Regions from separate parts of the Homo sapiens genome. Here all the other regions are linked to region 1. Evidence: promoter capture Hi-C in 16 types of primary human blood cells and fetal thymus (Javierre and others, 2016). All regions are on one chromosome and are shown on one strand. Each heading gives the region's core, a stretch centred on a gene start or on the middle of the fragment in contact. The rest is flanking DNA. Distances are from core to core; before and after follow the strand shown.

Region 1 (3,725 bases), core at 203-2,702:
TACCCTTAACCATTGCACTATATTCCATCTGCTGAATTGATAAGCTTTGTTAGGAAAGAAGAAAAGAGAGGCCTGGGCAGTCTTGGTAATGTCGAATGGTTTGAGATGTTAAGGAGCACCCGAATATCTCAGAATAGAGCTAACCCCGCTCTCCCCCGCCCCGACCCCATTTAAGATGCATTGATAAGCCTTTAATGAAACTCAAAGTTTACCTTAGCAGGTTTAATATTTGATCTCATCTTCTGAAAGTTCTTACTATCAGTCTTATACACAGCGAGGCGGACTAATTAAGAGGCAAGGGTGATAGGAAACTGGACACACGTCCTCAGCAGGCACAGGAGCAGCACCATATGGCTGACTCACTGGAGGTTTTTAAAAAAGAGAAAGAATATCTTCCGATCAGTACTAAGATGTGGCCTTGCCCATTTGGGAACAGGATTCGCAGACCAAGAAAAGGGTGGCGGGCGTCCCCATGAGCGGGACGTGGGAAGCGCCTCACTTCTGACCTCACGGAGCCTGACCTCGTCCCCCGCGCCTGCCTCCGACCGGCGACGCAGGTTACCTGTAGGGATTCGAATCCACCACCTCTGAGCTCATCTTCTCGATGCGGACCCGGCCGCCCCCTCCGTCGCCGCTCCTCGGGACCTGCAGACTCCTCTCCTGGGCAAGTTCCCGCTCCAGCTCCTGGACCCGCTGCTGCAGGCGCTCCACAGACTCCGCCATGGCTGGGACTCCGGCCGCCAACGCTCCCAGCCCGGGCCTTCGCCGCCGCCTTCGCCCCACGTTGCTCGGCTGGGCCCGCGAGGGGTACGTGGGGAGGCACCTCGCCGCTGCCTTCCTAGCCCAGAGCCCTGGGGACGTGCACCCAGCGCCTCACAGACAGACACGTCTCCGAGACTCCCACAGGCCTTCCTCGGAGCCGCTTCCGGTGCGTCGCAGACATCGCTCCCCCTCATCAAAAACCTGGCTCTTTCGGCTTCCTTCCTCGCTGGGCCGGCTAAACCCGGCCGCAGCAGCACCGGGGTGATAAGTGTCCAGGGCAGGAGGCCAGCGATGTTGCCTTGCTAACCGGGTATCTAAGAGAAACAGGGTCTTTTTATTCTTAGGCTCGACAGTCTGACGGCCCTTTTTCTGAACGGGACCCTGCAGGTCTTCCGCCTGCTGTTGCATTAAATTTGGGGGTGGAAGAGGCTTCTGCGTTGTTCCTTACCCGCAACGATGACCATGGCTTTGCCTTCTTTAAAATTGAGGCCTCCAACTCTGACGCTGACTGGAGAATTGAAACCCGAACACACATTGGGCTCTTTTGGCACTTGACTAGAGCTAAAACCTCGGGATTCAGCGGGCAAGCGTTGCTCAGCAACGGCGCGTAGGCTGTGTGCGGTTGGCTGGAGCCAGACCCCACCCCGGCCTCGGCCCATGCTCTAGAGGGGACGTTGCCCCAATCCTGAAGGACTTCGGCACTCGAGACCTGTGGATGCCGCGTTGCTGTGGCCTGCGGGGGTGATCATGAAGCCAGGTGCTACTGGCGAGTCCGATTTGGCCGAAGTGCTGCCCCAGCACAAGTTCGACAGCAAGTCCCTGGAGGCCTACCTAAACCAGCACTTGTCTGGCTTTGGGGCCGAACGTGAGGCTACGCTGACCATTGCCCAGTACAGGTATGGATGTCAGCCTTTGCCTCCAGCGGAAAAAAATTTGTACATTGAGTTTTCCTTCCTTTGGCCCTGGGTGGTTTCCTAAGTTTCTCCCACCCTGATTGCTTTTCCTGCAGTCAGTGGACGCACCCTACAGGCATGAGCTGCTATTGCCGGCCCTCCGAATTCGATGCTGGGGGCTTCCCAATTGGAGGGCGGTAATGGAAGCGCAATAACGTTCACCATTCTACTATCCAAAGGAATCTTTGTTAAAGGATGGATTTATGTCCCTTGAGGATTCACCAAGGCAATTAAGGCTACAAATTCTGAGAAATAGATGCCTTCTTTTGTGATACAGCCATTAGATCTTTTTCTGAGAAGCTGGTGTAATTCCGTTTGATTGGCCGTATTCCGGGAGGCTGAGTTAATGACACCAGATGGAGGATCCGAATTCGAGTACTAGCTTTTCCACTTAGGAGGTCACAGCACCACTTTGGGCCTCAGGTTTTTTGAAGTGAGGTAATGGAACTGAGTGAGAGGATCCTGAGAGTAGCGTTCCCCACCGGGAATCTGGCTTTAGTCTGATGTTTTACAATAGATAATACATTCTTAAAACTTTATTCTAAAAATAACATTGTTACTAATACAGGGCTACAGAAAGAGTCCTATCATTCAGAAAACTGGATCTGTCACTTGCTGTCTGGGAGTTTAAATATGTTACATAAACACTCTGAGAACTAGTTTCCTAAGTTGTAATACCTATTTTGATTAGTCTTATTAATGAAATGAAATACCGTAATATAGGTGAAAGGGCGTAAAAATTGCAACAACATAGTGTGCTAGTGGTATTTTATCACTAGCATTTATATTCTTTGACTACTGATTTTGGTGAAAATGAAAATAATAATAAATGAGATGGATCAGGGAACATTTTAGGGTGTAGAATTTAAAGGTCCCATGTCCCAATAGATATTGGAAGATGAAGGGAAAGGTGGAATAAAGAATAGCTGAGATTTCTAGGCTAGAAGCCTTGTGTTGTAACAAACTGAAACAGATCAAAGTTCAAATTTCAACTATTTCAATTGCTGTGGAATTTGGACAAGTTACCCTTTGAACATCTAGTCCTGCTTTGGCAAAAAGGAGATAGTAACGTTCATATTGTAGGAGTGTTGAAGAGGTACATAACTGAAAGATACTTAATTCTGAACCAAGCTGAATGTTAAACCATAACCGTGTTCAAAAAATGAAATTAGTTGTAAATTAGTTGTGGTATAAAAATTGCTTCCAGAAATGTTGTATAAGCTTGGTTTAATAAATATATATGGAACTCTGGATCCCACAGAGAACACACATTCATTTCTAGGACACATGAAAAAGTTTATAAAAATTGAAAACACATAGGCCATGAAGGAAGTCTCAGAAACTCAAAAGAATCAATCTTTATATTTTGAAAATGTGTGTTTTGGCCAGGTGCAGTGACTCACACTTGTAATCCCAGCACTTTGGGAGGCCGAGGCACGTGGATCACTTGAGGTCAGGAGTTCAAGACCAGCCTGGCCAACATGGTGAAACCCCCATCTCTACTAAAGATACAAAAATTAGCCGGGCGTGGTGGCACGTGCCTGTAGTCCCAGCTACTTGGGATGCTGAGGCAGGAGAATCGCTTGAACCAGGAGAGGGAGGTTGCAGTGAGCCAAGATTGCACCACCATGCTCCAGCCTAGGTGACAGAGTGAGACTCAAAAAAAAAAAAAAAAAAAAGGAATATGTGTTTTTTTAATACCAAAAGTTTAACAGAAGATAGCTAACAAATACATGTTTATAAATTAAGTGATTCATGGATTAAAGAGCCAATAATCTACATAGACAGTAAAAGACTATCAAAGTTCAGTGTACAGAAATCAACTGCATTTCTCTACTTTAGCAACAGTTAAAATGTAATTTTCAAAAACTTACAGGAGCATCAAAAATATAAATTACCTAAGTAAAAGATGTGCAATACCTTTGTAGAGAAATGATAAAACTTTTATTAGGACCTTAAAAAGAATTTTAAAAATTGAGAGATGCCATGTTGTTGAATAGGAATATTCAA
Region 2 (3,641 bases), core at 63-2,562, 850 kb before region 1:
AATAGGGTCTCCTGAGGCCTGGGACCCGGAGCTGGACAGAATCTGGAAAGGAAGGCAGAGCTTTCCTCTGACTCCTCAAAGCTGTGACATCTATCTCTCCTCTGCCTGCGTGTCAGGTTCCTGCCTCTCCTGTAGAGCAGACTTCTAGACTTCCCTACCCCTGTGGAGGAAAGGCCCACTTGCAGATCTTGAGCTGGCCCGTCTATGAGTGAAGCAACCAGCAGAAACTGACTCATTCATTTTAGGATCAAATCCACATTCTTGGGAGAAAAAATTCGGACTGACCCTCTGGAGTCAGGTGTCCACCTGTTAATCATGCTTCTCCAGAGCACCAGTAGGATATAGGTACATAGGTAGGTAGGAGTTAGATAGAGATCTATGAGACGGGATTTATGAGGGAATTTGCTTATGTCATCACAAGGCTGAGTAGTCCCACGGTATGCCATCTGTGAGCTGGTGAACCAAAGAAACTGATAGCATGGCTTCGTCTAAAGTCAGAGGCTGAGAACAAGGAGACCCGATGGTGTAACTCTCAGTCAGAGGCTGAAGGCCTGAGAACCTGGGGAGCTGCTGGTATAAGGCCTGGAGTCCAAAGGCCAGAGAACCTAGAGTTCTGATGTCCAAGGGCAGGAGAAGATGGGTGTCCCACCTCCAGAAGAGAGAGAGCAAATTGTCCTTCCTCTGCCTTTTTTTTCTATTTGGGCCCTCAACCAACTGGTTGGTGCTTGCACATTGGGTGAGGGCTGATCTTCCTTACTCAGTCTACTGATTCAAGTGCCAGTCTTTTCCAGAAATATTCTTACAGACAGATCCAGAAATAATGCTTTATTGGCTATCTGGGTATCCCTTAATCCAGTCACATTAACACCTAAAACTAATCATCAAAAGTTCACACCTTGTCAACTTGGCACACTTACCCATCTTTTTTTTTTTTTGAGATGGAGTCTTGCTCTGTCACCTAGGGTGGAGTATAGTGCCATGATCTCAGCTTACTGCAACCTCTGCCTCCTGGGTTCAAGCTATTCTTCTGCCTCAGCCTTCTGAGTAGCTGGGACTACAGGCATGCACCACCACGACCGGCTAATTTTTGTATTTTTAGTAGAGACAGAGTTTCACCACACTGGCCAGGTGGTCTCAAACTCCTGCCTCGTGATCCGCCCCCCTTGGCCTCCCAATGTGCTGGGATTACAGGCGTGAGCCACCACGCCCAGCCACATTTACCCATCTTCTTAAAGCCATAGTTCCACCTAACATGATACAACTATCCTACACGCAATAAAAGTGCACCAGTTCCTTCCCCAGAAGAGGAGGTAAAGTCTTTGAGTGATGTTTACTCTTCTCCCGATATCCCATAAGTTAAATAATGTAAAATTAACGATACTTAACTGCTGATATAAAGTCAATATATTTTATGTTACCTGATACAATAATAAGAGAGGAAATAAAATAAATATGTCTGGGCCCCAGGCCACAGGAGACCCTATTGCCTGGTTCCAGGAAACCCTGGTATGTGCCCAAACCTCCTCCTTTTGTTAAACTAGCTCACATTTGACAAAAGAGGGAGGAAATACTCATGGCAATTACGGCTCTCATTTCTGTAACTGGTCATAGGGTCTTAGATGGTATTTATAACTATCATCTTCTACCATCCATCCTGTATTCTCTTTGCTTCTAGCAAGCAGTTCGGCTTGATTCTTTACCTAATGTGATGACTCAAAACTTATTCCTGAAGGCTCTGGGCCATTCATAGTCCTGGCTAGATTGGGTTATCATAGTTCCCCATTGACCTTAACCACAGGGCATGGTAATATTAAGAGATGGCCCAAGGAATTGCCTGTATTTCAGAAATACTTACCTCCTTACCTCCATTGTGGAGTAGTAGTCCAATTTCTCCTTGGTAGTCCAGATCAATCACTCCAGCCAACACCATAACTCCCCTGACTCAGAGGTGTGCGGAGCCCAAAGTGGCTAGGTGCGAGTCTCAACTTCCAGTTCAATGGAATCATTGTTGTGTCTGCTAGTGAAAGCATTCTTCCCTCTGGAAATAAGACCTCTATGGCAGCCGGGCATAAAGCCATGGGAAAAGGAAGCAACAATTGTGCTAGTAGGTCATTAGGGGTCATGGTGTGTGGTGCCACTCCCATTTCCACCCCTTGATTCCTGGACCTCTACATCCTGGCAATGGGAGAAACAGTACCGTGTATTAGATGCTGATTCAGAGCTTATACAGTCTTCTGGAGAATCTTGCCCCTACGAAGTATTATCACCTATCATACTATAACCGTGTCTTCAAAAGGCCATCCCATCATTCTATCAAGCCAGCTGCTTCAGGATGGTAGGGAACATGGAAAGACCAGTGAATTCCAGGAGCATGAGCCCATTGCTGTACTTTGGCTGTGAAGTGTGTTCCTTGGTCAAAAGCAATGCTGTATGGAATACCATGATGGTAGATAAGACATTCTTTAAGTCTACAGGTGGTAGTTACAGCAGAAGAATTATGTGCAGAGAAGGTAAAAATCCATATCCAGGCTGGGTGCCATGGCTCACACCTGTAATCCCAGCACTTTGGGAGGCTAAGGCAGGAGGATCACGTGAGGTCAGGAGTTTGAGACCAGCCTGGCCAACATGGCAAAACCCCATCTCTACTAAAAATAAAAAATTAGCCAGGCATGGTGGTGTATGTCTGTAATCCTAGCTACTTGGGAGGCTGAGGCATGAGAATCATTTGAACCCAGGAGGCAGACCTTGCAGTGAGCCAAGATCGTGCCACTGCACTCCAGCCTGGGTGACAGAGTGAGATCTGTATCAAAAAAAAAAAAAAAACAAAAAAAAAAACCATATCTAGAGTAACTGCCTGTTGAAATAAGAAAAAAACACTGCCCCTTTCATGATTGGAAGCTGTTAATCAACTTGCCACTGGGTAGCTGGCTGAGCATCCCTGGGAATGATGCCATATCAGAGGCTCAGTGTTGGTTTCTGCTGCTGGCAGTTTGAGTACTCAGTCTCAAAGTGGCGATGGCCAGGTTGGCCTTGGTGAGTGGAAGTCCATGTTGTTCAGCCCATGAATAACCTCCATCCCTGCCACCATGGCCATTTTGTTCATGAGCTTATTTGGTTTATGAAAGCAAACTCCTTCTAGTGGACCTTATGAACAGGTATAGAGAAAAGGCATTTGCCATATCAAGAGCTGCATACCAGGTACCAGGAGAAGTATTGATTTGCTCAAGCAATGAAACCACATCTGATACAGCAGGTGCAGCTGGAGTTTCCACTTGGTTAACCTTATGATAATCCATTGTCATTCTCCAAGATCCTTCTGTCTTCTACACAGGACAATTAGGAGAGTTGAATGCAGATGTGGTGGGAATAATTATACCTGCATCTTTCAAGTCCTTGACAGTGGCACTAATATCTGCAATCCCCTCAGGGATGCAGTATTGCTTTGATGTATTATTTTCCTAGGTACACGCAGCTCAAATGGCATTCATTTGGCCTTTCCTACAATAATAGCCTTCACTCCACAGGTTGGGGAACTAGTGTGGGGATTCTGCCAACTGCTAAGTACATCTATGTCAACTAAACATTCAGAAGCTGGGGAAGTAACCACAGGATGGTTTTAGGGACCCACTGGACCCACTGTA
Region 3 (3,761 bases), core at 674-3,173, 930 kb before region 1:
AACTGAGCAACATAATGAAAGGGCAAATTTAAAGTGGCCAGGGGTAGTGTAAGGCAGATTAACATTTACAGTGAGTAAACTCAGGAATGGTCAGATCTGCTGTCAAAAGACAAGTCAAACATCATGGAAGTATTGTTGGAGAAGGATAACGAGTAGCTACAGAAGTTACATTGATGATGAGGCAGTTATCTAAGAAATGACAGATAAGATATTAAAAATGGTCTTTATATACTGATAACTACTGAACTACAAAAATGTGTAGTTTTGTAAAAAATCAAAGAAATTTACTATTTCAGTTGACAAGTCTTTCCCTCCAACTTCAGTATCCACTTTCCCTCATTTAACAGTATCCAAAAATGCATTTAGGAATATGATAATCATTTCTGGTCTAAGCATGCAATTTAAGGGATTTCCTGCTTGAGCTAGCCCTATGGTTGTCTTCCAACTGCCTACTAGGGAAATAATTTATCATTTTTTGACATAACCCAGTGGTTCCCAGATTTTGCTGCACATTAGAACTATGGGACTTGAAAAAACATTCCTCTGCTCGGGTCACACTCCATACTAATTAATTCAGAATGTCTGGATGTGGGAGTCGGGCATCACTTTTTTTTTTTTTGAGACGGAGTCTTGATCTGTAGCCCAGGCTGGAGTGCAATGGTACCATCTCGGCTCACTGCAAGCTCCGCCTCCCGGGTTCGAGTGATTCTCCTGCCTCAGCCTCCTGAGTAGCTGGGACTACAGGCGTCCACCACCGTGCCCGGCTAATTTTTGTATTTTTAGTAGAGATGGGGTTTCACTGTGTTGGCCAGGCTGGTCTTGAACTCCTGACCTCAGGTGATCCGCCCACCTCGGCCTCCTAAAGTGCAGGGATTACAGGCGTGAGCCACCGCACCCAGCGAGTTTTTTTTTTTTTTTTTTTTTTTTAATGATTCCCAGGTTATTCCAAAATGCAGCAGTTTGAGAACCATGGACATAATCTTACAGAGTTGCTCCACTTCTTATGATTAAAATTGCGAAGGCTGGGTGCTACTCTCCATCATATTTGGAGATGAACCATTTTACAGAGGTTTCTTGGGGCATGCTTTGACTGGATCCCTGAACAGTTAGGTTGAGGGATTAAAAAGACTTTTAAAGTGGATGACTTAAATCCTACCCATCGTCTGTATTACTATATCCAATTATTTAGAATTCTAGTTCCCACTTGGGCTGCAAATTCAAAAGAATTGAACTGCCTTAATGATTACTTTTATGTATATCCTAAATTCCTGATGTGAACATAATTCCTATTTTAGATAATACAAATAAGATTATTTAAAGCAATTATTTCTAAGGCCAGGTGTGATGGCTCACACCTGTAATCCCAGCAATTTGGGAGGCCGAGGTGGGCAGATTACTTGAGGTCAGAAGTTCAAGACCAGCCTGGACAACATGGGGAAACCCTGTCTCCACTAATACAAAAAAAAAAAAAAAAAATTAGCCGGGCGTGGTGGCATGCGCCTGTAATCCCAGCTACTGGGGAGCCTGAGGCATAAGAATTGTTTGAACCTGGGAGGCAGAGGTTGTGGTGAGCTGGGATCGTGTCACTGCACTCCAGCCTGGGTGACAGAGTGAAACTGTGTCAAAAAGATAAAATAAGCAATTATTTCTTACTCAATATATCACTCATAATATTCATTATCTTTATTTCAAGCCCAGGAGAAGCAATTCATAACTTGCCTGCATTCTGCAGGCCCCATTAGTACCTAGTTGTAGTAACTGGTGAATTAAAACCATTACAAACCTGCAGTTTCAGGATGCTAGTTATTAGAACACCTGTCCATATGACTTTCTAACTTCTTGGCTCTCCTTCTGATCTGACTACCTCCATTAATTTGTTTGCACTCCCTAACTTGAAATCGTGACCTCATTTGTTCCTTTGTCAGTCTAGACACCCATAGCATGACCTGTCCTAAATTCCTACCCCACACTCTTAACCTCCTGACATCTCCACCTACGTGTACCTACCCCAGACCAATTTCACATTCTAACAGAGGGAGATAAACAACCAAAATGTTTAGTGTGCTAAATAAAGAGTAAGAACTACAAGCCAGGCATGGTGGTTCACACCTGTAATCCCAGCACTTCGCGAGGCTGAGGTAGGAGGATAACCTGAGCTCAGGAGTTTTGAGATTAGCTTGGGCAACATAGCAAGACCTCATCTCTACTAAAAATAAAAAAAGTTAGCTGGGTGTGGTGGCACGCATTTTAGTCCCAGCTACTTGAGAGGCTGAGGCGGGGAGGATCATTTGAGCCCAGGCCAAGGCTGCGGTGAACTATGATCACACTACTGCACTCCAGCCTGGGTGATGCTGTCTCAAAAACAACCACCAAAAAATCCCCCAAAAACTATGAGTCTTGGTGCTGAGCAACTGGTAGTCACATGCAGAAGAATGAAGCTGGAGCCCTAAGTCACAATAAAAAAAATTAAAATAGACCAAAGACCTAAATGAAAGAGCTAAAAACATAAAACTCTTAGAAGAAAATAGGCATAAATCTTTATGACTTGGGTTAGGCAATGTTTTCTTAGATATAACACCCAAGCACAAGCAACTAAAGAATAGAAAAGGTGGACTTCATCAAAATTGAAAATTTTGTACTCCAAAAGACACTTCTAAGAAAGGGAAAAATGGTAGGAGAAAATGTTTACAATTCATGTATCTGACAAAGAAGTAGCACCTGAAATTTAAAACACTTGCAACTCAACAATAAAATTATAAGTAAACCAATTTAGAAATTGGCAGAGGATTTGAATACACATTTTTCCAAAGACATACAGATGGCCAGTAAGCACATTTAAAGATGCTCAACATCACTAGTCATTATAGGAATGCAAAATAAAACCATAATGAGATACTTCACACCCACTCGGAAGACTAGAACCAATCTGAAACAAGTGATCACAAGGATATTGGAGAAACTGGAATCCTCTGACACTGCTGGTGGGAATAGTAATATATAATATGGTGAGGCTACTTTAGAAGAGTTTGGCAGTTCCTCAAAGTGATACAGCCTTTCATCTCTAAGTATATACCCAAGAGAATTGGAAATGTTGATACAAAAACTTGTACATGAAAGTTCATAGCAACATCATTCATAATAATGAAACAACCCCAATGTCCAACAGATGAATGTACAATTTAAACGTGGTATACCCATACAATTACCTATATTGTTTAGCAATAAAAACGAAGCACTGATACATGCTAAGCCTCAAAAACATGCTCAAAAACAAGTGTAGAAGCCAGTCTCTGAAAAACAAATTGTATAACCCTGTTTATATGAAATGACCAGAATGAGAAAATCTAGGCCGGGCACGGTGGCTCATGCAGCTGTAATCCCAGCACTTTGGGAGGCCAAAGCGGGTGGATCACCTGAGGTCTGGAGTTTGAGACCAGCCTGGCCAATATGGTGAAACCCCATCTCTATTAAAAATTCAAAAATTAGCCAGTCGTGGTGGTGGGTGCCTGTAATCCCAGCTACTCGGGGAGGCTGAGGCAGGAGAATCACTTGAATCCGGGAGGCGGAGGGTGCATTGAGCTGACAATGTGCCACTGCACTCCAGCCTGGGTGACAGCAAGACTGTCTCAAAAAAAAAAAAAAAAAAAAAACAGAAAAAAGAAACTAGAGACAATACAATAGTGGCTGCCTAGGACTGAGGAATTTGGGAGGAAAGAAGAAAATGATGACTAATAACAATAGAATTTCTTTTTGGGGTGATG
Region 4 (3,590 bases), core at 473-2,972, 950 kb before region 1:
TGCATTTTAAAAACTAAAAAGAGGCTGGGTGCATTGGCTCACACCTGTAATCCCAGACTTTGGGGGGCTGAGGTAGGAGGATTGCTTGAGCCTAGGAATTCAAGACCAGCCTGGCAACATAGTGAGACCCCATCTCAAAAATAAAAAGTAAAATGAAACAAGTGAAATGAACTTTAAACATATATTTATCATTCAATATGTGATCAGATAAAATATCAGTGAGTTTTTTTTTATATAAAGTAAAAATCTAGTGTTTATTTAACTTACAGCACATCTCAATTTGGACTAACTGTGCTTCAGGTGTTTGATAGCCACAGATGTCTAGTGGCTACTCTGTTGAACAAAGCTCTATAGAGTTAGGAAAACTATAGTAAGAGAAGTTAATCTGGCAGCTCAGCATGGAAAGAGAAAACATTAAGAAATATTGGTGGGGTTTTTTTGTTTTTGTTTTGAGACAGAGTCTTGCTCTGTCTCCCAGGCTTGAGTGCCATGGCACAATCTCAGCTCACTGCAACCTCTGCCTCCTGGGCTCAAGCAATTCTTCTGCCTCAGCTTCCCAAGTAACTGGGATTACAGGTGTGCGCCACCACGCCTGGCTAATTTTGTATTTTTGTATTTTTAGTAAAGACAGGGTTTCACCATGTTGGCCAGGCTGGTCTCGAACTGCTGACCTCAGATGATCCACCTACCTTGGCCTCCCAAAGTGCTGGGATTACAGGCATGAGCCACCGCACCTGGCCAAAATAATGGTTCTTAATAGTGGCCCTGAAGTATCAGGAAAAGATTAAATGTTATTTAATGCTGTCTTTTTAAGAATGTGGAAAACTATGATATGCTTTAAAAAAAAAAAAAAGATTTATGTCAAATACAGTTGTATACTTGGAAAAACTTTCTCTTTTTTTTGCGGGTGAAGCTCACAGCTTTATTTTTTTTTATTTTTTTATTATTATTATTATACTCTAAGTTCTAAGGTACATGTGCACAACCTACAGGTTTGTTACATTTGTATCCATGTGCCATGTTGGTGTGCTGCTCCCATTAACTTGTCATTTTCATTAGGTATATCTCCTAATGCTATCCCTCCCCCCTCCCCCCACCCCAGGACAGGCCCCGGTGTGGAAAAACTGTTTCTTCTTAGAAACTTTACTCATACAAAACACTTTGTTTCCCAGTTCCCTGATAACTTAGGTGAGGTTATAAGTCAGAATTGCTAAGCTTTACCCAGAACTCATGAAAATGAAAGGCTTCAAGTGTCAGTCTCCTATAGATTTTTCCATCTCTGCAAACTTTGGGGAAGAGTGACAGCAATTAGCAGAGAATTGATCTAGAAGAGGGCAGGAAGCAGAGGCAGATGAGTACAGATTATGTTGGAATTCAGAGTCTTGTAACTCTAGAGGTTTTCCAATATTAGAATGCAAAGAGACATTATAATAGATATTATGCCCAATCCTTCATTTTATAAATGAAGCAACTGTGGCCAACTGATATATATGTATATAAATCAGTCTATTATGTTGTCTGGGTCGCAGAATAAGTTTGTTATGTAGAATTGGAAATTGATGTTTATATATTAATATGGAATTTTACCTTCTTGTCTTTTTGTCACTCTGTGATCCTGAGTAAGGTGCTCTACCAGTTTTCATGTGCATAAATGCAGATAATAATAGTAACCTTCCTTCATATGGTTGTGAGAATTAAATGAGTTAGTAATCTGGAGCACTTTAAGTAGTTCCTGGCATAAAATAAATGCTCAGAAGGTGTTGCTGCTATTATTATTAGAGTCATCTTAAATCATGAGTTTGAATGTTTTGTTAAAATCTTAGAAAGTCCTTGATATGACCGGGTGTGGTGGCTCACACCTGTAATCCCAGAACTTTGAGAGGCTGAGGTGGGCAGATCATGAGGTCAGGAGTTCAAGACCAGCCTGGCAAACATGGTGAAACCCCGTCTCTACTAAAAATACAAAAATTAGCCAGGTGTGGTGGCGGGCACCTGTAATCCCAGCTACTCAGAAGGCTGAGGCAGAGAATTGCTTGAACCCGGGAAGCAGAGGTTGCAGTGAGTCGAGATCGCGCCACTGCACTCCTGCACTCCAGCCTGGGTGACAGAGTGAGACTCCGTCTCAAAAAAAAAAAAAAAAAAAGTCCTTGATATAACTAACTCTGCCCAACCAGTGGTCAAGTTAACCTCTAAGCTATAAATCAACAGCCATGCTTTACATAAGCTTATGTTTACTTATGCCTTCTTCTTTCCTCAAAGTCAGGCTTCATGCATTTATATCTGAGAAGAGGTTCAATTATTGCTTTTTCCCACCTGCTGCTTCATCTCTTATTTATCTGTGTGTGTTTTCTTCCCAAGCTTCTCTGTTGGTCTGCCGACATTATTTCCACTCATAAAAAATTTCCTCCTGTTTTAAAGTCTGCAGATGCCCCTATCTTACTTCCATCTCCCTGGTTACCCATATTCGGTGCTTGAAAACTGCTTTTGTAATTGAGACTTAAGAGACATAACCAACTACAGCGTGTGGCTCATGTTTATGTTCTATTTCTTTTTGTATCCTAATTATAACAATCCAAGTGAAGACAAACAGGAAAAATTGAACAAGGATTTAGTACTGAGACAGCAAAGAATCTTTGTTAATCCTATTAGATCTGATAATGGCATTATGGCTGTTTAAGAAAATTTCCATATATTCTAGAGATGCATACTGAAATACTTAGGGGTCAGTAACATGGTATCTAGAATTTGCTTTAAAATAGTTAAGCAGGACCAGGCATGGTGGCTCACGCCTGTAATCCCAGCACTTCGGGAGGCTGAGGCAGGTGGATCATTTGAGGTCAGGAGTTCAAGACCAGCCTGGCCAACATGGTGAAACCCTGTGTTTACTAAAAATACAAAAATTAGCCAGGCCATAGTGGTGTGTGCCTGTAATCCCAGCTACTTGCGAGGCTGAGGGAGGAGAATCGCTTGAGCTGGAGGTTGTGGTGAGCCAAGATCATGCCACTGCACTCCAGTCTGGGTGACAGAGTGAGAACCTGTCTCAAAAAAATTAAAATTAAAACAGAATAAAATTAAGTAGTTAAGCAAAAAAAGGTGGCAGAATTTGGATAATTTTAGAATATAGGTAGCTAGTATATGTGTGGGGGTTCATTTTACTATTTTATTTACTTTTGTATTTAAAATGTTCATAATAAACATTTTAATACATATATATATGTATATAAAGTAAAATAATTCTAAGTAAGTCAAGTTTTTTTGGTTTAAATGGTTTGGGGCATTTTATTTATAAATAATTTCTATGCGTAGTTGAGATTACATTTTTCCTAGAAAGAAGTTGGGAATCAATAAAGTACAATCCATTTTTCTCTGCTTAAGGTGGATTGGTGATAGAAAAGCAGTGCTTTGATCCCACCTGTACACACATTGTTGTGGGACATCCACTTCGAAACGAGAAGTATTTAGCCTCAGTGGCAGCTGGGAAGTGGGTGCTTCATCGCTCCTACCTTGAAGCCTGCAGGACTGCTGGACACTTCGTGCAGGTGTGTATTCAGATTTGTGGAAGTTTATTTTTCTTTAAAAGCAAGTGTCCA
Region 5 (3,586 bases), core at 175-2,674, 970 kb before region 1:
CCAGCCAAAGAAAAGAGCTCTAAGCAACACCTTGAGGTGCTCACCTTTAGAGGAGGAACCAGCAAAGGAGACTGAGAAGGAGCTATAAGAGAAGAGGAAAGCCTAGAGCTTATTTCAAAGAGCCAAGTATTTCAAAGAGGGAGGAGGGGTTAACTATGTCCAGGACTGCTCTAAGATAAAGAAAGGTGAGAATAGAAAATTGGCCAGTGGATTGAGCATTATGAAGGTCAATGGCGTCATCATAACAATAAGGGTTTTGGTGGCATGATGGAGGTGGAAGCTGGTGTGGGTTCATAAAGAAATGAGAAGAATCGGAGACATTGAGTGTAAACAACGATTTTTGAAGGAATCTTGCCATAAAGGGGAGCCAAGAAATGGAGTTGTAGTTATGGGGCAAAGTAGGGTCAAAAGAAGGTTGTTTTCTTTTTAAGGTGGAAGAAATAGCCAGGCTCAGTGGTGCATGCCCATAATCCCAGCACTTTGGGAGCCCAAGACGGGAGGATCACTTGAGTCCAGGATTTCAAGACAAATCTGGGCAACATGGCAAGACCCTGTCTCTACAAAATACACAAAAATTAGCTGGGTGTGGTGGTGCACGTCTGTAGCCCCAGCTAGTTGGTAGGCGGAGGCAGGAGGATTGCTTGAGTCCAGGAGATAGAGGACGCAGTGGGCAGTGATCATGCCGCTGTACTCCAGCCTGGGTGACAAACTGAGACCCTGTCTCAAAAAAAGAAGAAGAAATAACTATATGCCAGTGTAACTGCCATTAGAGAGCCAATTGATGATGCAGATGAGAGAAGGAAGACTTGCAGGAGGCTTGAGTCTGAGAGGCATTGGGATCTACTTCTTAAGTAGAGGAAGGTACTAGTGGCACGTGTGCTGAAGGCAGATAGATGTGGTATGGGAGCTTCTGATTTTTATATAAGGAATCCTCTAAAATGCTTTGAAGAAATTTTAAAAAGTTTAGCATATAGAAAGACTTACCATGTTCTTGCAAAATAGATTTAAACATTGTCAAGATCTATAAAGGTGTATTAATCTGTTTGCACATTGCTATAAAGAACTACCCCAGACCGAGTAATTTATTCTTATTTTTATTTTTTTATTTTGAGATGGAGTCTTGCTCTTGTCACCCAGGCTGAAGTGCGGTGGCATGATCTCGGCTCACTGCAACCTCCGCCTCCTGGGTTCAAGCAATTCTGCTGCCTCAGCTTCCCAAGTAACTGGGATTACAGGCGCCTACCCCCACACCCGGCTAATTTTTGTATTTTCAGTAGAGACGGGGTTTCACTGTGTTGGGCAGGCTGGTCTCAAACTCCTGACCTCAAGTGATCCACCCACCTCAGCCTCCCAAAATGCTGGGATTACAGGCGCGAGCCACCACGTCCAACTTTATAAAGAAAAGAGGTTTAATTGACTCAGTTCCACAGGCTGTACAGGAAGCACCACTGGGGAGGCCTCAGGAAAATTACAATCACGGTCGAAAATGAAGGGGAAGTGAGCACGTCTTTCATGGCTGGAGAAGGAGGAAAAGATAGCGGGGGGAGATGCCACACACTTTTAAACAACTGGATATCAGCCAGGCGCAGTGGCTCACGCCTGTAATCCCAGCACTTTGGGAGGCCAAGGTGGGTGGATCACCTGAGGTCAGGAGTTCAAGACCAGCCTGGCCAATATGGCGAAACCCCATCTCTACTAAAAATATAAAAATGAGCCGGGTGTGATGGCATATGCCTGTAATCCCAGCTACTCGAGAGACTGAGGCAAGAGAATCACTTGAACCAGGAGGCAGAGATTGCATTGCACCAAGGTCGCGCCACAGCCCGGGCAACAGAGTGAGACTCCATCTCAAACCAGATATCATGAGAACTCACTCATTATCACAAGAACAGCAAGGGGGAAATCCGCCCCCATAATCCAGTCAACTGCCACCAGGCTCCTCCTCCATCATTGGGGATTACAGTTCAACATGAGATTTGAGTGGGGACACAAATCCAAACCATATCAAAAGGTAATGTAGGTCCTAGAAAAAAATGCAAGCAGAAACAATATTAAAAAAAATCTGAAAAGTATAATTGCAGGTAGGCAGTAGCCCTACCGTTTATTAAAACCTCCTATAAAGTTGCAGTAGTTAAAACAGTGTGGTGTCACGTGAATAATCAAGTTAGTGTATAAGATTATACTCCACAAATAGGGGAATTTATTATGTAATAAAGGTGGCATTCAAATTGGACAATTAGGTAGCCATCTGAAAATACGTTTGTAATTAAAGCTCACACTTTACATCAGAATACTTTTTAGATGATCAACTTTTGGGGTTTTTCTTGAAATAGGATCTCACTTTATCACTTAGGCTGGAGTTCAGTGGCATCATCGTGGCTCACTGCAGCTTTGACCTCCTGGGCTCAAGCAGTCCTCCCACCTCAGCCTCTGGAGTAACTCAGACTAGAGGTACATGACACTGTGCCCAGCTAATTGTATTTTTTGGAGAGGTAGAGTCTCACCATGTTGCTCAGGCTGGTCTAGAACTCCTGGGCTCAGGCAGTTCTGCCTTGGCCTCCCAAAGTGTTGGAATTACAAGCGTGAACAACCACACCCAGCCTAGATGATCAGATTTAAACATAAGAAATGAAGCCATAAAAATTCCCAAACATGTCATGAATTTGTTTCTAAAATAATCCTAGTGTGGGGAAGGCCTAACTATAACATACACTCCAAAAGAAATAGAAGATTCGTATGAATTTGACAGCATTAAAAATTCTCTAACTGGGTGTGATGGCACATACCTATAGTCCCAGCTGACAAGGGAGGATTGCTTGAGCCCTGGAGGCAGAGGTTGCAGTGAACTAAGATTGAGCCACTTCAGTCCGTTCTGGGCAAGAGAGCAAGACCCCGTCTCAAAAAACAAAAAAATTACAGCGAGTCACCGTGACTCACACCTGTAATCCCAGCACTTTGGGAGGCCAAGGCGAGAGGATTGCTTGAGCCTAGGAGTTTGAGACCAGCCTGGGAAAGACGGCAAGACCCTGTCTCTATGAAAAATTTTAAAATTAGCTGAGCACAGGGTTGTGCATCTGGAGTCCCAGCTACCTGGGAGGCTGAGGTGAGAGGATCCTTGAATCCAGGAGTTAGAAGTTACAGTGACCTATAATCATGCCACTGTACTCCAGCTTGGGTGACAAAGCAGGACTCCATCTCTGAAAAAAAAAAAAAGCTCCATGGCAAAAATTTGACAAATGATAAATTGAAAATAAATACGTGGGTATTATATCACAGTTGATACATGCACATATAAATTCATACAAATGAATATAAAAGTATATTCATACAAGCGAATATATTAAAAAAAAGACTAACAACCCAGTAGAAAAATGGGCAAAGGATAGGAGCAGATAGTTATCACAAAAAATTAGATATAAATATACATATAGCCAGGCGCGGTGGCTCACGCCTGTTATCCCAGCACTTTGGGAGTCAAAGGCGGTTGGATGATGAGGTCAGGAGTTTGAGATCAGCTTGAGCAACATGGTGAAACCCTGTCTCTACTAAAAATACGAAAAATTAGCCAGGCATGGTGGTGCATGCC
Region 6 (3,727 bases), core at 1-2,500, 910 kb before region 1:
AGTATGTACTTGTCTTCTGGTCAAAGCCCTTGCTTCGTTCTGGGGCAAACTAGGCTAAATGGAGGACAAACATGCTCGTAGGCTAACACTATACTTCCGCTGGGTTCCTGCATGGGAGCTGTTACTTTAAGCAACTAAGAAAAGCCGAAGGAAGAAGTCAATAGGAATTTCACAACTACATTTCTACTTCAACCTTGCCACCGAGAGTTTTCTTTTTCTTTCACGGGCTTAGAGACTAAGTCATCACAAAAGAGCTGCTACAAATGCGGCTGCTGAAAGCGAAAATTCAGCTCAAACTACTGGGCTGAGGTCAGCACACGGAATTACTCAGCCTAGACGTCACCCGATAAACGCTGCTCTGTGCTGGGCACTGCGGCCCCAGACCTAGTGCCCCCGGAGGGTGGCGCCGCCCGGGCCTTGGCTAACGCCGAGCGACGCGGGGTGGGAAGGGCGGCTCCACCGCGGATATCGGAAGGGGTCCCGGCCCTGGCGAGCCCAGCCCGAGGTGGAGAGCCTGCGTCACGTGGCGGCCCGCGCCCGTCCGCCCGGCCTCCGCGGCCCCTCCCGGACGCTTCCCCGGCAGGCGGGGGCGGGCACATGGGGCGCCGGCGCGCGGCCCGGGCCCCGAGTGCCGGCCTCCCGGCCCCTCACCTTCGTCACAGCCTTGGTGGCGGCCCCTGGGCCCGCAGCCCCCGCGCTGGCGGTCCCGCCGTCACCCGGCCGGGTCCCCGCGCCCGCCCCGCCGCCCGCCGCACCCGCGGCTCCACTGCTTCCGCCGGCGCTGCCCGCTGCGCCCGCGGCACTCGCCGCCCGGTTGCTCCGCTCCTTCTTCTTCTTCTTGTCCCTCTTGGCAAAGAAGTTGTCCAGGCTCCGCTCCTCCGTCTCAGCCATGGCCTCGGCCTCCTCGACCCGGATGGGTGGGGCCGGCGGCGGGCGCGGCCCGCGGGGCTCCGAGCTCGGGGTCGAGGCCGGCTCTGCGCTCACGCTGCCGGGCGCGGCGACGCCTCAGCCCCGCGGGGTCGCCGAGGCGTGCGCGGCGAGACGGGCGGCTCCCCCTGCGTGCTGGCGAGCGGTGGTACGGTCCGCCCGGGGGCTCGCGCGCCGCCGCTGTCGCCCGAGGCTGCCGGGGCTGCCGCTGCTGCTGCGACGGCGGAGCAGGATTCCGCTCTCCCCACAACCTGAGGGGAAAAGGCACGCGCGAGCCAGAGGTTCTGGCGAGAGTGCTCGGCTAGCAGCGGCGCGTGCCGGAGGAAGAGGCGCGCGCGCAGGCCTGGAGAGGAGGGGAAGGGAGTGGGGAGGGGAGGGAGAGGGAGGAGGGAGGGCGGGCCGCTAGAAGAGAGAGGAAGCGCCTGCGCCTGCGTATTTTGCTCTGCCTGCCGCTGTGGGATCGCCAAGGGGCGGGCGGCGGGAGGAGATGGAGGCGGAGCTGGAAAGAGAGCCAATCAGGTGCCAGGACGAAGCTCTTAGGTGACAATCCCTGACCCAGACGGGGCGGAGTCCAAGCATGGGGGCGGGGAGAGGAGGGCATATGCAAAATAAGTGACGTGCCGGGCGACTCCGGTTTCCCGATTGGCCGAGGGTTTAGTCTTGAGGGCGGGCATGTTGAGGGCTGGTTGATGACTTGGCTAAAGAGGTCCAGCAGGAGGGGCAGTGGGTTCCTTTTGGACGCATGCGCAGGATGCACGTGTGTTTCCTGGCCCAGAACAAACCGTGGCCCCATAGTAGTCGTTTGAACTGTCGCGAAACGGACAGGCACTGCGTTAAGCCAACTGTGTTAAAGATTGTTCCTCTCCTCTGATCGCTTCTGTACTTCCACCCCCTCTGGAGTGGCAACCATTACTTTTCTTCTTTACCGGTTGATTGTGAAAGTGAGAGGAGCAGTGAGCCTGAAGTTTAGGTCCCATTTACTAAAAGATCTTTCATAGGCTGGTTGGTAGGTAGAAAGGGATTTTGTCTGAACTCCACCCTCTGGATTATGTTTACCAAGGTCAAGTTCAATAAATCCTATCGTCAAGTCCCTAATCTGTAAAGTGGGTATACTATTTCTTACAAGATAGGGGGATGGAGGGAAGAGAGTCAACATTATTAGCTGCTCAGCACATTGCTTAACGCCCTGACTTGAGTCTAGATGATGATACAGTTTATCCTTAGCTTCTATCCCTGATAAAAGGAGGGGACTGTCTTATCATAGGGGTGGAGACCAAAATGCCCAGGCGAAAGCCAGGTTTAAATGGGTTTAAAGCCCATTTAAATACCCTTGGGGCCTTGAAAATGAAATGAATTCTATATGCAAAAGGTGGTCTAAAGTAAGCTCTTAAACTTTCTACTTCCTCCTTCTAAAAGCAGAAGAGGGAGCTGTCACAACCATTGAGGAAATGACTCAGACAAATGTTGGTAGCCATATGGGGTAGATAGAATCCAGCCAGTAAATGGAGAGACTTCTTCGTCTTTTCCTTTACAGTTACCCCATTAAAGTTTCTCTTTTCCTACCCCCTACTTACACTGCTATTAAAGAATTAACTTCTGGCTGGGCGCGGTGGCTCACGCCTGTAATCCCAGCACTTCAGGAGGCCGAGGCAGGCGCATCACCTGAGGTCAGGAGTTCGAGACCAGCCTCACCAAAATAATGAAACCCCGTCTCTACTAAAAACACGAAAATTAGCCGGGCGTAGTGGCTAACGCCTGTAATCCCAGCTACAGGTTGAGGCTGGAGAATTGCTTGAACCCGGGGGTGCGGAGGTTGCAGTAAGCCGAGATCGCCTCATTGCAATCCAGCCTGGGCAACAACAGTGAAACTCCGTCTCAAAAAAAAAAAAAAAGTCTAACTTCTGAATGTCAAAAGAAATCAAGGACCTAGCCTTGGCCAGCAAGTAGCTTGAGCTTATACATATACTATTCCCCAAACATGAACAGCTCCCAAGGTGACTTCCTTCTATGACAACATATATCTTCCTGTGATGCAGGCCAGGTTCAGTACTGCCCATCACCATCACCCTCCCTTACCATCGCTAATCAAATTTATTTTCTTTCTTTTTTTTCTTTCCTTCTTTTTTCTCCCTTCCTCTTTTCTTTCCTTCTTTTCTTCCTCCCCCCTCTTTCTTCCTTCCTCCCTCCCTCTCTTTCATTTATTTATTTATTTATTTACTTACTTATTTTTTGAGGCAAAGTCTTGCTCTTGTCACCAGGCTGGAGTGCAATGGCATGTCAGCTCGCTGCAACCTCTGCCTCCCAGGATCAAGCGATTCTCCTGCCTTAGCCTCCTGAGTAGCTGGGATTACAGGCACCCGCCACCACACCCAGCTAATTTTTGTATTTTTAGTAGAGACGGGGTTTCACCATGTTGGCCAGGCTGGTCTCAAACTCCTGACCCTCGTGATCCACCCACCTCAGCCTCCCAAAGTGCTGGAATTACAGGTGTGAGCCACCATGCCCGGCCCTCTCCCTCTCTTTCTTTCCTCATCTATGAAGCACTTATTTTGCTATATTTCGGGCAAAGTGCTTTATTCAAAAGTGAGTAATTTGTGATTCCTGCATTCAATTCCCTTATAATCTAGAAGAGAAGATCTAGATATAAATAAGTTTCAGTTATTTATATCTTTCTTAAGTCCTTATCAATTCATCATTGTCTTGAAAGAATTAATGACTTGAGAAAATACACAGAAGGAACAGTAGTTGAGGGCTGACGCTGCAGAATTTCCCACTACATTTTTCAGTGTGATTGATGGCA
Region 7 (3,980 bases), core at 88-2,587, 990 kb before region 1:
TTTCGTTTTTAATTCAAAGCAATTTCTACTACATAATTTTTCTTAAAATTGCATATCCACGCAGTTCTGGAAACTGCATGACAAGTGGGATGATGGTCTTTATAGCTTGCACTAATACATAACTATGTGCTATTTTTGTAGGCCTCATGTAGTGGGAGCAAAGTGGTTGCTAGAGTGTTTCAGTAAAGGTTATATGCTTTCTGAAGAACCATATATCCATGCTAATTACCAGCCAGTGGAAATTCCAGTTTCACATAAGCCTGAAAGTAAAGCAGCTCTTTTAAAAAAGAAGAACAGCAGCTTCTCTAAGAAAGACTTTGCTCCTAGTGAAAAGCATGAGCAAGCTGATGAAGATCTGCTCTCTCAATATGAAAATGGTAGCTCCACAGTAGGTAAGAAATGCTTGATTAGTATTTGTAGTTAGTAAGAAATATTTTAGTAGCCTAATACGTACATATGTGATTTCTGCCAAGTTTTCTAGATTTTAAGTTAAATTAACCTTTTTCTTTCCTTAAAATTTTCCTCATAACTTTTTTTCTGAGCAGGCAAGACAAGAGGGTCCTGAACCCTTTAACCCTCTCTCCTGTCTCCAGCTAACTAGCTCTATTTTGATTTGTTATATATACAGGCATTGCTTGGTTTGTGTGTGAGTTTGTAATATCATGAGCCTTTTATTAAAACCTTGTAACAAATACCTCTTACTGGATTATTGTGGTCTTTAATGCATGAAACTGTACTGTGGACTACCACCTCAGTATGTACTCTTATCATGTAGTAAGGTAAATTGCCAGTGAAGCATTATAAACATCATTACTTCTTTTTTATTAAAAAAAAGCCTTTATAAAATACCTAATATAGCCAAAAATATATACATTTAAGTAAATTTAATGTGTATCATAACTTAAAATCTGAAGTTAATCAGAATTTTAATCTACCTCGAATAAAACAAGAACCTTAGAAAACTTTTTTTTTTTTTGAAGCAGGATTTCGCTCTTGTTGCGCAGGCTGGAGTGTAGTGGCATGATCTCAGCTCACTGCAACCTCTGCCTCCCAGGTTCAAGTGATTCTTTCTGCCTCAGCCTCCCAAGTAGCTGGGATTACAGGCATGCGCCACCACCCCTGGCTAATTTTGTATTTTTAGTAGAGATGGGGTTTCTCAGTGTTGGCCAGGCTGGTCTTGAACTCCCGACCTCAGGTGATCCACCCGCCTTGGCCTCCCAAAGTGCTGGGATTACGGGCGTGAGCCACTGAGCCCAGCCTAAAATACTTTAATGATCACAACTAGCCCTGCTCCCTCTCTCCACTCATCAACATACTCAGCTTATGTGATTTTGTCTAGTATTTTCATTATCTTTTAACATCTTACAATTAGGCGTTATTATGCTTTTATATGGTCAGTATTTGTTTCATTTACTAACACGTTTAACTGTTTCTTTGCTCTCCCCAGTTCTTTTTACATCTGAGACCTCTCTTTTGGAATCATTTTCTTTCTTCCTAAAACAATATCCTTTAGAAACTCCTTTAGTTTCTCTAAGACTCTTCGGCTGGGTATACAGTTCTAGACAGTTTCTTTAAGCACAGAGATATTGTTTCATTGTCATCTATTTCCCTGACTGCTGGATAGGAGGTCAGATATCAGTCTGTCATTCCTTTACAGATAATCTGTCTTTATCCTCTGGCTGTTTTTAAGATAGTCTTCCTTTTGGTTTTTGTGTCCTAGAGCTTTACCATTTATTTGTCCTGCTTGAGATTCACTGTGCCTTCTGAATCTGAGAATTAGTAGATTTTTTGCTTTTTGTTAGGTCAAGAAATGTTTATTATCTCTTTGAATATTGCCTCTCCCCCATTCTCTATATTCTCTTAACTCCCATTTGCTTTGCATATAGGTCACTTAACCTGTCCTTATCTTCCATCTTTTTGTCTTTCTGTGATTTATTATGTGTAATTCCTTCAGATTTTTTTCCAGATCACGAATCATCTCTTCCGCTATTGCCTAATCTGTTTTACCCATCCATTAAATTTTCTGTTTTAATAATTAATTTTTCAATTCCTAGAAGTTTTAGCTTTTTAAATAGTCTGTCATTTATTTTTTTACTTTTAAAAATAGAGATGGGGTGCTACTATGTTACCCAGGCTGGTCTTGAAGCACCTCAGCCTCCCAAAGTGCTGGGATTGCAGGTGTGAGCCACCACACCCAGCCAAGTCTGTCATTTTGTATTTGTATTTTTTGTTCTTTATTTCTTAAAACACATTAAACCTATCAAAACATCTGTGAATTGTTCTGTTGGCTGTTGTTTATGGTGCCTGGTTTTCTTGTGTTTTGTGATTTTTATTGTGAACTTGTACTTACTAGGACTCTAGGAATTCTAAGAAACTTGGGGTAGGGGTTTGTTACCCCAGAAAAGGTTCATGTTTGGGTCTGCTAGGTGCCTAGGAGTTTACAAACTCAATATGCCTTTAAGTTGGTGTATTGGCTGGAGGTTTCTTAGACCTCCAGCTATATGAATTTATACCCAAACCTACTTTGAGGACCAGCCTCTGATGAACAGATTCTTAGGAGAGATGTTGTTTCCCCTTGACACAAAGCCAGTGTTCTTGACCTCTTCCTTTACAGGGCAGATTTGTTGTTGGTTGGTTGGTTAGTTTTGGTCTGTTTACTAAAGATATGTCTCTTCATGGGTTCTGGGCTTGTTCTCTCAGGGTATACTCTCCTTCACCTCTAAGTTTTATGAAACCAAAGGATTGGCTCCTATCTCTTGTGTGATACCTTTACATTCCAAGGGTCTGGGTTACTGCACAGATATTTAATAGATTTTGACTAACCATTAGCTTTAGTAACTACTTAATGTTCTGGATTTAGTAACCACTTTAGTGGTCTGGATTTTAATATTTTATCCTGTATTTTGAAGTGTTTTTAGTGAGAGTGTTTCAAAGATCCTAGCCCACCATATTTCTAGAGAGGGAATTCCTAGCATTCCTTTTTTATTTACACTATTTCCGTACTACAAAATTGACTTTTCTCAAACCATTTACTTATGCTTTAGTATTGTATCACATCAGGAAATCATCTTGATTTTCCAGGATGCTGTGGTATAACTGAAAGTGATTTTTTTTTTTTTTTTTGGAGACAGGGTCTCACTCCATCACTGAGGATGGAGTGTAGTGTCACAAGCTTGGATCACTGCAACCTCCTCCTCCCGAGTTCACGCAATTCTCTTCCCTCAGCCTCCTTAGTAGTTGGGAGTACAGGTGTGCACCACCACGCCCAGCTAATTTTTGTATTTTTAGTAGAGATGGGGTTTCACCATGTTGGCCAGGTTGGTCTCAAACTCCTGGCCTCATGTGATCCTCCTGTCTTAGCCTCCCAGAATGTTGGGATTACAGGCTTGAGCCACTGCACCCAGCCAGCAATTTTACATACTATCCTTCAGCCAAGGGTACTTGGTGTAGGGCAGGTGATTAGTTTCTTAAACCTTCCTAAGACAGCTAGTGGTTTACTGACTTTATAAGGATTAAGTGATGGTAAATCTTAGTGGATCACCAAGCATCTTAGAAAGTCTATAATAAAGTATTTTATAATTAATTCTTAAAATGGCTTTTGATTTAAGGGAGTTTTTTGTTTTTTTTTTGAGATGCAGTCTTGCTCTGTCACCAGGCTGGAGTGCAGTGGCGTGGTCTTGGCTCACTGCAACCTCTGCCTTCTGGGTTCAAGTGATTCTCCTGCCTCAGCCTCCCAAGTAGCTGGGATTACAGGCACGTGCCACCATGCCCAGCTAATTTTTCTATTTTTAGTAGAGATGGGGTTTCTCCATGTTGGCCAGGCTGCTCTTGAACTCCTGACCTTGTGATCCACCCACCTCAGCCTCCCAAAGTGCTGGGATTACAGGCATGAGCCACCGCGCCCGGCCCTAGGGGAGCTTTTTGAATGATAGGTTTATTATGTAGTATCTCTTAGGCTTTTGGGTGCGGTCTGTTTGAAA

What was found. Contacts are between HindIII fragments. The CHiCAGO score rates a contact against its expected background, and 5 or more counts as called.
Region 2: a fragment that was not itself captured here is called in contact with the fragment with the promoter of ACAD11 in region 1 in 1 of 17 cell types (M1 macrophages); the score reaches 5.2 in M1 macrophages.
Region 3: a contact is called between a fragment that was not itself captured here and the fragment with the promoter of ACAD11 in region 1, in 8 of 17 cell types (non-activated CD4 T cells, naive CD8 T cells, activated CD4 T cells and 5 more). The highest score is 9.1, in non-activated CD4 T cells.
Region 4: a contact is called between a fragment that was not itself captured here and the fragment with the promoter of ACAD11 in region 1, in 4 of 17 cell types (M1 macrophages, total B cells, erythroblasts and 1 more). The highest score is 7.7, in M1 macrophages.
Region 5: a fragment that was not itself captured here is called in contact with the fragment with the promoter of ACAD11 in region 1 in 6 of 17 cell types (naive CD8 T cells, total CD8 T cells, neutrophils and 3 more); the score reaches 6.2 in naive CD8 T cells.
Region 6: the fragment with the promoter of CDV3 here is called in contact with the fragment with the promoter of ACAD11 in region 1 in 13 of 17 cell types (total CD8 T cells, naive CD4 T cells, naive CD8 T cells and 10 more); the score reaches 15.1 in total CD8 T cells.
Region 7: a fragment that was not itself captured here is called in contact with the fragment with the promoter of ACAD11 in region 1 in 5 of 17 cell types (total B cells, total CD4 T cells, M1 macrophages and 2 more); the score reaches 7.8 in total B cells.

Annotation. Positions count from the first base shown.
Region 1 is chr3:132,657,536-132,661,260 of GRCh38, reverse strand. ACAD11 (acyl-CoA dehydrogenase family member 11) reads left to right here and starts at 1,452. Exons shown (of 20, transcript NM_032169.5): 1 at 1,452-1,658. The coding sequence starts at 1,510. UBA5 (ubiquitin like modifier activating enzyme 5) reads right to left here and starts at 932. Exons shown (of 12, transcript NM_024818.6): 1 at 563-932. The coding sequence starts at 723. The region is part of intron 26 of NPHP3-ACAD11 (NPHP3-ACAD11 readthrough (NMD candidate)); the gene reads left to right. RefSeq lists enhancers at 337-616, 987-1,076, 612-1,150. The HindIII fragment of the contact is 2,892 bases long and covers 47-2,938 here.
Region 2 is chr3:133,511,357-133,514,997 of GRCh38, reverse strand. No RefSeq gene overlaps it. Among named protein-coding and RNA genes, the nearest start is that of BFSP2-AS1, 22 kb to the right of the region's middle. The HindIII fragment of the contact is 7,656 bases long and covers 1-3,641 here.
Region 3 is chr3:133,591,600-133,595,360 of GRCh38, reverse strand. No RefSeq gene overlaps it. Among named protein-coding and RNA genes, the nearest start is that of CDV3, 20 kb to the right of the region's middle. The HindIII fragment of the contact is 4,028 bases long and covers 1-3,761 here.
Region 4 is chr3:133,612,338-133,615,927 of GRCh38, reverse strand. TOPBP1 (DNA topoisomerase II binding protein 1) reads left to right here. Exons shown (of 28, transcript NM_007027.4): 24 at 3,376-3,539. Among named protein-coding and RNA genes, the nearest start is that of CDV3, 40 kb to the right of the region's middle. The HindIII fragment of the contact is 1,009 bases long and covers 1,218-2,226 here.
Region 5 is chr3:133,629,929-133,633,514 of GRCh38, reverse strand. All of the region lies in intron 14 of TOPBP1 (DNA topoisomerase II binding protein 1), which reads left to right. Among named protein-coding and RNA genes, the nearest start is that of TOPBP1, 30 kb to the left of the region's middle. The HindIII fragment of the contact is 5,525 bases long and covers 1-3,586 here.
Region 6 is chr3:133,571,209-133,574,935 of GRCh38, reverse strand. CDV3 (CDV3 homolog) reads right to left here and starts at 1,250. Exons shown (of 5, transcript NM_017548.5): 1 at 652-1,250. The coding sequence starts at 891. RefSeq lists silencers at 282-671, 702-811, 832-1,371 and enhancers at 1,752-1,921, 1,578-2,079, 2,022-2,261. The HindIII fragment of the contact is 11,859 bases long and covers 1-3,727 here.
Region 7 is chr3:133,645,795-133,649,774 of GRCh38, reverse strand. TOPBP1 (DNA topoisomerase II binding protein 1) reads left to right here. Exons shown (of 28, transcript NM_007027.4): 10 at 142-392. Among named protein-coding and RNA genes, the nearest start is that of TOPBP1, 14 kb to the left of the region's middle. The HindIII fragment of the contact is 3,674 bases long and covers 1-3,174 here.